2 separate regions of the Homo sapiens genome follow, and region 2 is linked to region 1. The links are contacts of gene promoters, found by promoter capture Hi-C in human tissues and cell types (Jung and others, 2019). All regions are on one chromosome and are shown on one strand. Each heading gives the region's core, a stretch centred on a gene start or on the middle of the fragment in contact. The rest is flanking DNA. Distances are from core to core; before and after follow the strand shown. Region 1 holds the start of CCL13 (C-C motif chemokine ligand 13). Region 2 has its middle 26 kb from the start of CCL1.

The links. Contacts are between HindIII fragments. The study calls those that stand out against the background at their distance.
Region 2: a contact is called between a fragment that was not itself captured here and the fragment with the promoter of CCL13 in region 1, in 1 of the 25 tissues and cell types used here (spleen).

Annotation. Positions count from the first base shown.
Region 1 is chr17:34,354,888-34,358,828 of GRCh38, reverse strand. It overlaps CCL13 (C-C motif chemokine ligand 13), which reads right to left and starts at 2,349. Exons shown (of 3, transcript NM_005408.3): 1 at 2,227-2,349; 2 at 1,240-1,354; 3 at 219-803. The coding sequence starts at 2,302. The coding sequence ends at 698. The HindIII fragment of the contact is 2,821 bases long and covers 456-3,276 here.
Region 2 is chr17:34,386,962-34,390,627 of GRCh38, reverse strand. No RefSeq gene overlaps it. Among named protein-coding and RNA genes, the nearest start is that of CCL1, 26 kb to the right of the region's middle. The HindIII fragment of the contact is 4,930 bases long and covers 1-3,666 here.

The DNA of each region.
Region 1 (3,941 bases), core at 1,100-3,599:
GGATGAGTTGCGAGCCAGGAGCGCCCATGCTGGGGACTGGAGCCATTGTTCCAGAACAGCCTGGGCTGGTGAGGCAGGCCCTCCTTGAAACTCAGATGAGCCAGGCTAGCCCCATGGCCAGGGCCTCTGTACATCTGCCTTCCACTGGCATGCCATCCACCCACACCTCTGAGAGCCCCTACTGGTTGGCAGTTACTCCTGAAGAAAACACCACTGTGTAGGAGATTTTAAATAAAATGTATTTTCTGCAAAATGTCAGCAGTCCTACTATTGCATTCATCTTTCCACAATAACATATTTAGCAACACCTCACATTCACAAAGAGCTCTCCTTCCTACATTGCAGCATCCCTTCATGTCCATGACTCCCACAGGCATGCTCTCAACCCCTGGGAACCGAATACAAACCCACTGCCAGCAGCTCATAGTGGAAGGGAAGGGGGCTTAGAGACAGCAACCTACTTGCTCAAGGCCTTGCTTTAGAAAAGATCAGCAATACTCAAATAAACTCCAAACCAGCAACAAGTCAAATAATAGCCAATATTACTTAACACATAGTACATTTTGAATCACAAAACCGAATGCATCCTATTTGAAAATTATGGTAGAAGTATTCCAAAGCATAGAAGAGGAGGCCAGAGGAGAATGGAAAAGTCATTTCACGTACTCCAGCTTGATTTCAGTAGGGGTAGCAGAGTTCAAGTCTTCAGGGTGTGAGCTTTCCGGCCCAGGTGTTTCATATAATTCTGGACCCACTTCTCCTTTGGGTCAGCACAGATCTCCTTGCCCAGTTTGGTTCTGAAGCTGTGGAGGAAGGAGATCTGGCACAGTTAGATGGAACCCTTTGAGGGTTTACCCAGGAGATGACACACTGGGTTCTAAACCTGCCTGGTCCACCTACTACAGGTGAAGGGGCACCCCTCCAGGACAGGAAGTAGGAGGTGTGTGGACAGAAGGGGTCTCTGGAGGCAGCCACTGCTCTTGCTGCCCCTGGGAAACTGATCCTGGCATCTGCTAAAGGGTGTGGGCTGGTGCCCATCCAGGAAACAAGGTGTGGGAAATTATAGGTCCTCTTTGGACCTGTTGTGCAGCCAAAATTGGAGGATTTGCATCACACAGTCTGGCTAGATCTCATCCTAAGATCTCAAGTCAGTCTGACGTCTGTCTCCTGGGGCAGAACTTTGGATTGGGGAATGTGGGAGTGGGGAGGAGCCAGGTGAGCAGGGATTTTTCTACCCACATGACAGCCTTCTGGGGACACCTGCTGGTGGTGATCACATAGCTCTTCAGCCTCTGCAAGGAGATCTTCTTACTGCTAAATGTGAAGCAGCAAGTAGATGGGACGTTGAGTGCATCTAGAAATAGTTACAAAGAAAAAGACTTTGAGGATGTGTTAGGCTTTTCTCAGCTTGAATACAGCAGGGAGCATCTGTATGGGATGCAAAGCAAAGAGGAAGAAATAGATCTTACTCACCCCCAAGCCCAGCACTCCCACCCTAGACCCTGAGGTGAGGTGGGACCTGTGACATGTGCCTCAGGATCTCAAAGGCTCAGCTGCATGGTGGAGACATGTCACAGCCATCTAGGGGAGGCCACGGGCAAGGCCAGTGGGAAAGGTCCTGGGTGTGGTCCCAGATCTGCAGAGTTTGGGACGATCAGATGAGGTCAAAGAAAAGGCCCTAAATCTGGAGTCAGAAGCTTAGGTTTCATTCTTGCTCTGCAATAACCTGGAGGTGGATGGCTAGGGTCCCTTCTGCCTCCAACATGGGCTTCAGCTTTCTATCTTTAAAATTAGATGTTAAAGTGAACCTCTGAGGAGCCTTACTATTCTGGTGGGCTTAGAAGTGGGGCACTTGGCTGGGCCTGGTGGCTCACGCCTGTAATCCCAGCACTTTGGGAGGCCGAGACGGGAGGATCACTTGAGGTCAAGAGTTTGAGACCAGCCTGGCCAACATAGTGAAACCCCTTCTCTACTAAAAATACAAAAATTAGCTGCACGTGATGGCGGGTGCCTGTAATCACAGCTACTCAGAAGGCTGAGGCAAGAGAATCGCTTGAACCTGGGAGGTGAAGGTTGCAATGAGCCAAGATCGCACCCCTGCACTTCAGCCTGGGCAACATAATGAGACTCAATCTAAAAAAAAAGTGGAGGAGCACTCGGGCTTAGGTCTTCCTTGAATAGAGAAACAGAGGGAAAGAGAGGGAGAGTCGAAGGGAGGTGACTTACCTGGCTGAGCAAGTCCCTGGGGGTTGAAAGCTGCTGTCATGAGCAGCAGGCACAGAAGCACTGCAGAGACTTTCATGTTGAAGGTTAAGAGTTGGAGATTTCACAATGTTTCTTTGCCTCTCTGCTCCTCTGGCTGTTCCGCCGGCCTTTTATAGGGAGTGGAGAAGCTTGGAACTCTCAGAGGACCTTGGCCTGAGCAGGGCGTTGACCAAGTCATGATGAAGGGGGATCCTGAATCTGCTGAGCTGGAGCTGGGCACCAAAGACTTTTCTAGGAAATGCAAGAGGGAAGCTGAGGGCTGAAACAGCATGGCATGGCTTCCTTCTGGCTGTTCAGGCCACAAGGAGCCAGAGAGGAGAAAGGGACACAGACGCGCCCCAGCCATTCACCATGGGAAGCCATAAAGGAGCTGTTTTCTTCTTACTTTCTCCAACAGGAAAGAGAAAAACAATGAAAATTAACTCCTGTAGAGAAAGAGTGCTGTGCTAAGGACTCTGTTCACGTTATATATTTAGTTTGAGGAGGTACATACCATTATTATCATGCCCATTTCATAGAAGAGGAAACGGATGCAGAGAGATTAAATAACTTGACCAAAATCTTATGGGAAATGAGAGGGAAAGCTAGAAGAGAAAGCTGGTCTGCTTATATTTTATCACCAAGGCAGTTTCAACTTTTGTTTAGCAGCAGAAGTCTTTTTCCAAGTCAACTTTTATGTGGAAGTCTAATATCTGAAACAGATTAAGTCAGATTTCTGATGACAGGGGCTCCTTACATTACATATTGTGTCCCCTTCTGCCCCTCAGGCCCAGAGGGACATGGTTCAAACACCTCTGATTGATGCAGGCCCCGTGTTTCCAGGAAGGACCATTGGGTTTCTAGAGCTGTTGATGGGAGGGCTGGGGTGGCCCTCAGAGCAAAGAAGTGAGGTGTTTGGCCCATTCCTGGGCTCCTCCTGCGAGGGGCACATATCTGGGAGCTGGGAGGTGGGGAGGGAATGGCTTAAAATGGTTGAACATGTCCCTTTCCCACTCATCCCTAGCTCCAAGACTTGGCACAGTTTTTGTGCCTTCCTGGAATACTCATCCCTCTGCATTCCACTATAGCAAAATAAGCCCAGTGAAAGTAAAGGGAAGAAATAAAGAGCTAGGATTAGAGAAATAGGAAACAGTAAATATTAGAAAGGATAGATGAAGCCCAAAGCTGGTTCTGTAGCCTATAATTAAGCTAAAACTCTCCTGAACTGAAAATGAAAAAAAAAAGAAAAAAGGGGCTGAGGCGGGGGGATCACTTGAGGTCAAGAGTTCTAGAGCAGCCTGGACAACATGGTAAAACCCTGTCTTTACTAAAAAAAATACAAAAATTACCCAGGCATGGTGGCACATGCCTGTAATCCCAGCTACTTGGGAGGCTGAGGCAGGAGAATTGCTTGAACCTGGGAGGCCGAGGTTACAGTGAGCCAAGATTGCACCACTGCACCCCAGTCTGAGTGACAGAGTAGGACTCTGTCCCAGAAAAAAAAAAAAAGAAAAGAAAAAAGGAAAAAGGTACATATAACCAGTTGCAGAGCCTGCAGACACCAAAAAGAAAATGATAAGAACCTTATGCCAAAAATTTAGTTTAGAGGAAATGGATGAATTTCTTAAAAATCTAACTGACCAGGGTGCACAAATAAATAAAAAATAGAAAGTCATTCTAAAGCTATTAAAGAAATG
Region 2 (3,666 bases), core at 50-2,549, 33 kb before region 1:
CCATCCCAAAGCATTCTTGCAATATCCTGTCAGGGAAAGCAGAGAGACTTCAAGGGTAAAGACCAGTGGCTGCTTGTTTTCTTCAGGGGAGGATTAGGTCACGAGTGATCTTTGCAATGAACTCTCCTGATGCAGCATTGGGTTCCACACCTTCAACTGTCTCCTTTTTGGGTTCATGATCTCCCACCTCTGTACAGCAGCAGACAAAAGAAGCTACATGAAGGCAGCCTGGGCTCAAGATCATAGATATGAATGCATCCTGTATCACTAGACCTCCTCCTGCTAGATCACCTCCCTAAGTATTTGTCATCAGCGTGTGGGGTCAAATTGAGGAGCCACTTCCAGGGAGAGGTGATATCAGGAGTAAGTGGATCACAGGCCTAGACTTCTTCACTGGCAGCCTGCACAGAAACCACAGTCCTGGACCAAGACCGAGGAGTGAGCCCAGCCACAGGCAGCCACTGGGAATGGAGTAGGAACCAGGGAAGGGATTTTGGAGGGGTGAATGAATCATTATTTATCAGTTACGTTATGTCAGGCTCCAACGTGTGGATGAAGTCTGACAACCCTTGGGCCTGACATTAATCCTGCTGTTTATCAGCTGTTTGTCATAGGAAAATCACTTAACTTCTCTGAGTCTGTCTCCTTCTCTGTAAATGGATATGAAAACATTCATTGGATAGAGTTGTCGTGAAAGTTTAATGAAATTGCATGCACCCCAGCATGTAACAGTAGTTACTATTCTTACAGCTGTATTTTCTCCTCCCAACTACTCAGTAAGGTAGATATCACCTTTCCATCTCAGAGATGAGAAAATGAAAGCTCAAGAAGGTGAGGTCTTGCTTATAGCCATACAGCTAGGAAAGACACAAATGGTCTATTATCCCAAATCTTTCATGCCCTCCAATTCCATTCTGGTTTCACGCAGACCAGATGGAAGCTGGGAGAGAGCAGGGGGCTGAGGAACCGCCACCCACACCCACTTTGCCCTACAGCAGCTCTGCCTCCCCATGTATGCTGCTGAGGTGGAGGCAAAGTTTTACCCACAAGGGTTTCCCTTCCCAGCCTTGTTGCTAATTTTCGTCTCTGTGGTTTGGTCCTCCTCTGTCACACCTTCCTGTGATGTGCCCTTACCCCCACCCCTCAGCCAGGGAGATACTGTTGAATGCCCCACTGGGTGGTTATTTATGTGATCTTCCATCTCTTTCCTTCTGAGTGGTTTATTCCTCCTCGTTCTCATCCTGCCCACACAGGAGCTTGGCGAGAATCACTGTCTCCTAGTGTGGACAACAAAAAGAGAAGGAACAAAGTGGGTGAGCAGCTTTCCCCAGGATTACATGGCAAGAAAGTCCCTGTGGCCAGTCAGCTCCCTAGTGGCTGCCTTGAGCAGAGGGTGACAAAGAAAAGGACAGAGACCCCAGCCTGATAGCCTCCCCATTTACCTTTGCTCCATGCATATCAGGCTCACTCCCCGGGGCTGGGGAAATGTCTACCTTGACTTTGCGGTAGAGGTTTGGATCTTTCTGGGTATCTGCATCTTCTCCCATGCTCCTTCCCCTCTCCCTGTCACTGGCCACCAGTGGATCAGTCCCTGCCACCACGGGGAAAGGCCAGTCCGTGCCTCCTGGTCTCTGCTCCCCCCGATCCCTGCTAGGTGCTGTCATCTCCACGATGTCCCTCCACCATGATCCTGTGCAGTCAGGAGAGTCATTATCCTTATTTTGTTTTATTTTATTTATGTATTTATTTGTGAGATGGAGTCTCCCTCTTGCCCAGGCTGGAGTGTAGTGGTGCAATCTTGACTCACTGCAACCTCTGCCTCTTGGGTTCAAGCGATTCTCGTACCGCAGGCTCCCGAGTAGCTGGGATTACAGGTGTGCACCACGCCTGGCTAATTTTTGTATTTTTTGTAGAGACAGGGTTTCTCCATGTTGGCCAGGCTGGTCTCAAACTCCTGGCCTCAACTGATGCCTCCGCTTTGGTCTCCCAAAGTGCCGGGATTACAGGCATGAGCCCGGCCCGTCCTTATTTTATTTTATTTTATTTTATTTTGAGACAGGATCTTGCTGTGATACCAGGCTTCAGTGCAATGGTGTGATTCTAGCTCACTCCAGCCTTGAATTCTCGGGCTCAAGTGATTCTCCTGCCTCAGTCTCCTGAGTAGCTAGGACTACAGGCATGTGCCACTACACTCAGCTAATTTTTAAATTTTTTTGTAGAGATAGAGTCTTGCTTGTTGCCCAGGCTGATCTCAAACTCTTGGCCTCAAGCAATCCTGCTGCCTCAGCCTTCCAAAGCTTTAGGAATACCGGTATTATTCCCAGCCATTATCTTCACTGCAGAGATGAGGACACTGAGGTTTGGAGGAGTCTAGTGACTCATCCAAGATCACAGCCCTAGGAAGGTGTTGACCTGGGCTCCCATTCAGGTCTCTGAACTCCAAGCCCAGTGCCCTCTCCACTACCACCAATGTGGGCTGGGAACGGCATGTTTTCTTCTGTTCTCCTGAGGCATGGCTTTTCTTGAGATGAATACAAGCTCCACAGGTGGCACAAACTGAGTGCCAGCTCTGAGCCAGGCTCAGCTCTAGCTCCTTCAATCCTCTCAACACCATATGCTGTAGGTGATGGTTTATAGCCATGGAAACTGAGCCCCAAAGAGACGAGTTGGTTGCCCAAGGTCACACATAATTGATGGAAGTGGCTACTGGCAACCCCAGTGCCGCAGCATGATGCTTTACCTGCCTGAAAGGAAAAGCGTGGAGCTAAGCATGCCATTAGTCTGTGTTTAAATCCCCACTCTGGCCTGTATCTAGCGACAGGCTTCTCAGCTGTGCCTGGGGGGTGCTACCCCCTGCACTGTTGGGTTCTTGGAGGCAAGAGAGATAGCAGGAGGTAAAGCTTATTGCAGCCTGGTCCTGGGCACAGAGTAGGGGCTTAGTCCAGCTAAATGTCCCTCTTCTCTTTCCACGCCTCAGACCATGGGAAAAAGATCTTGGATTAAAGGAAAGGGGACATTTTGCTGGAGTGAAGCAGGCACCTTCCTGGGTCCCTAGGGGCTTCATCTTTTTAGCTTCCTTGACCTTGCTCTCTGGAGCTGTGGGGCCTGGAGAAGCTGTTACCAATGACTTCCTCTCTGTTCTGCAGCCAGCCTGACTTTTAATCTCTTCTCTCCTTCCTGCCTGCCTGGCACTCTTTTTCTGCTTTGCTAGCACATTGTCCATGTGTTTCTACCACCAAAAGGCCTTTCTGCCTAAACTCTGCTGCTTCCTGTGGCTAATAATATTTGGGTAGATTTTCCTTTTTTGTCTGCCGGTGGTGGTGGTGGTGGGGCAGATTATTTGAGTAAGTCACTGTGGTGAGTCACTGTCCCCTCCCCTGCTCCCACTGACTGGGCATTGGGCTTCTCATGAATTGGGCAGTCTTCCTGCTCCTGTCTCCCATCAAGTTTAGCTGCTCCCTGTTCCACTCTGACCACCTGGCTCTTTCTTGCTTGCTGCTCTGAGCCTCTGAGGCAGGGCAGGATTTCTTTCCAAGCTCTCTCTGAGCATTTACTGTGAGCCAGACACTGTTCGAAGCACTTTCCGTGCATTATCTTATTTGACTCTCACGTCACTATGTGGTCATAATGAGTTAGTAACTGTTTTCTCTTAGAGGTTCAGAGAGG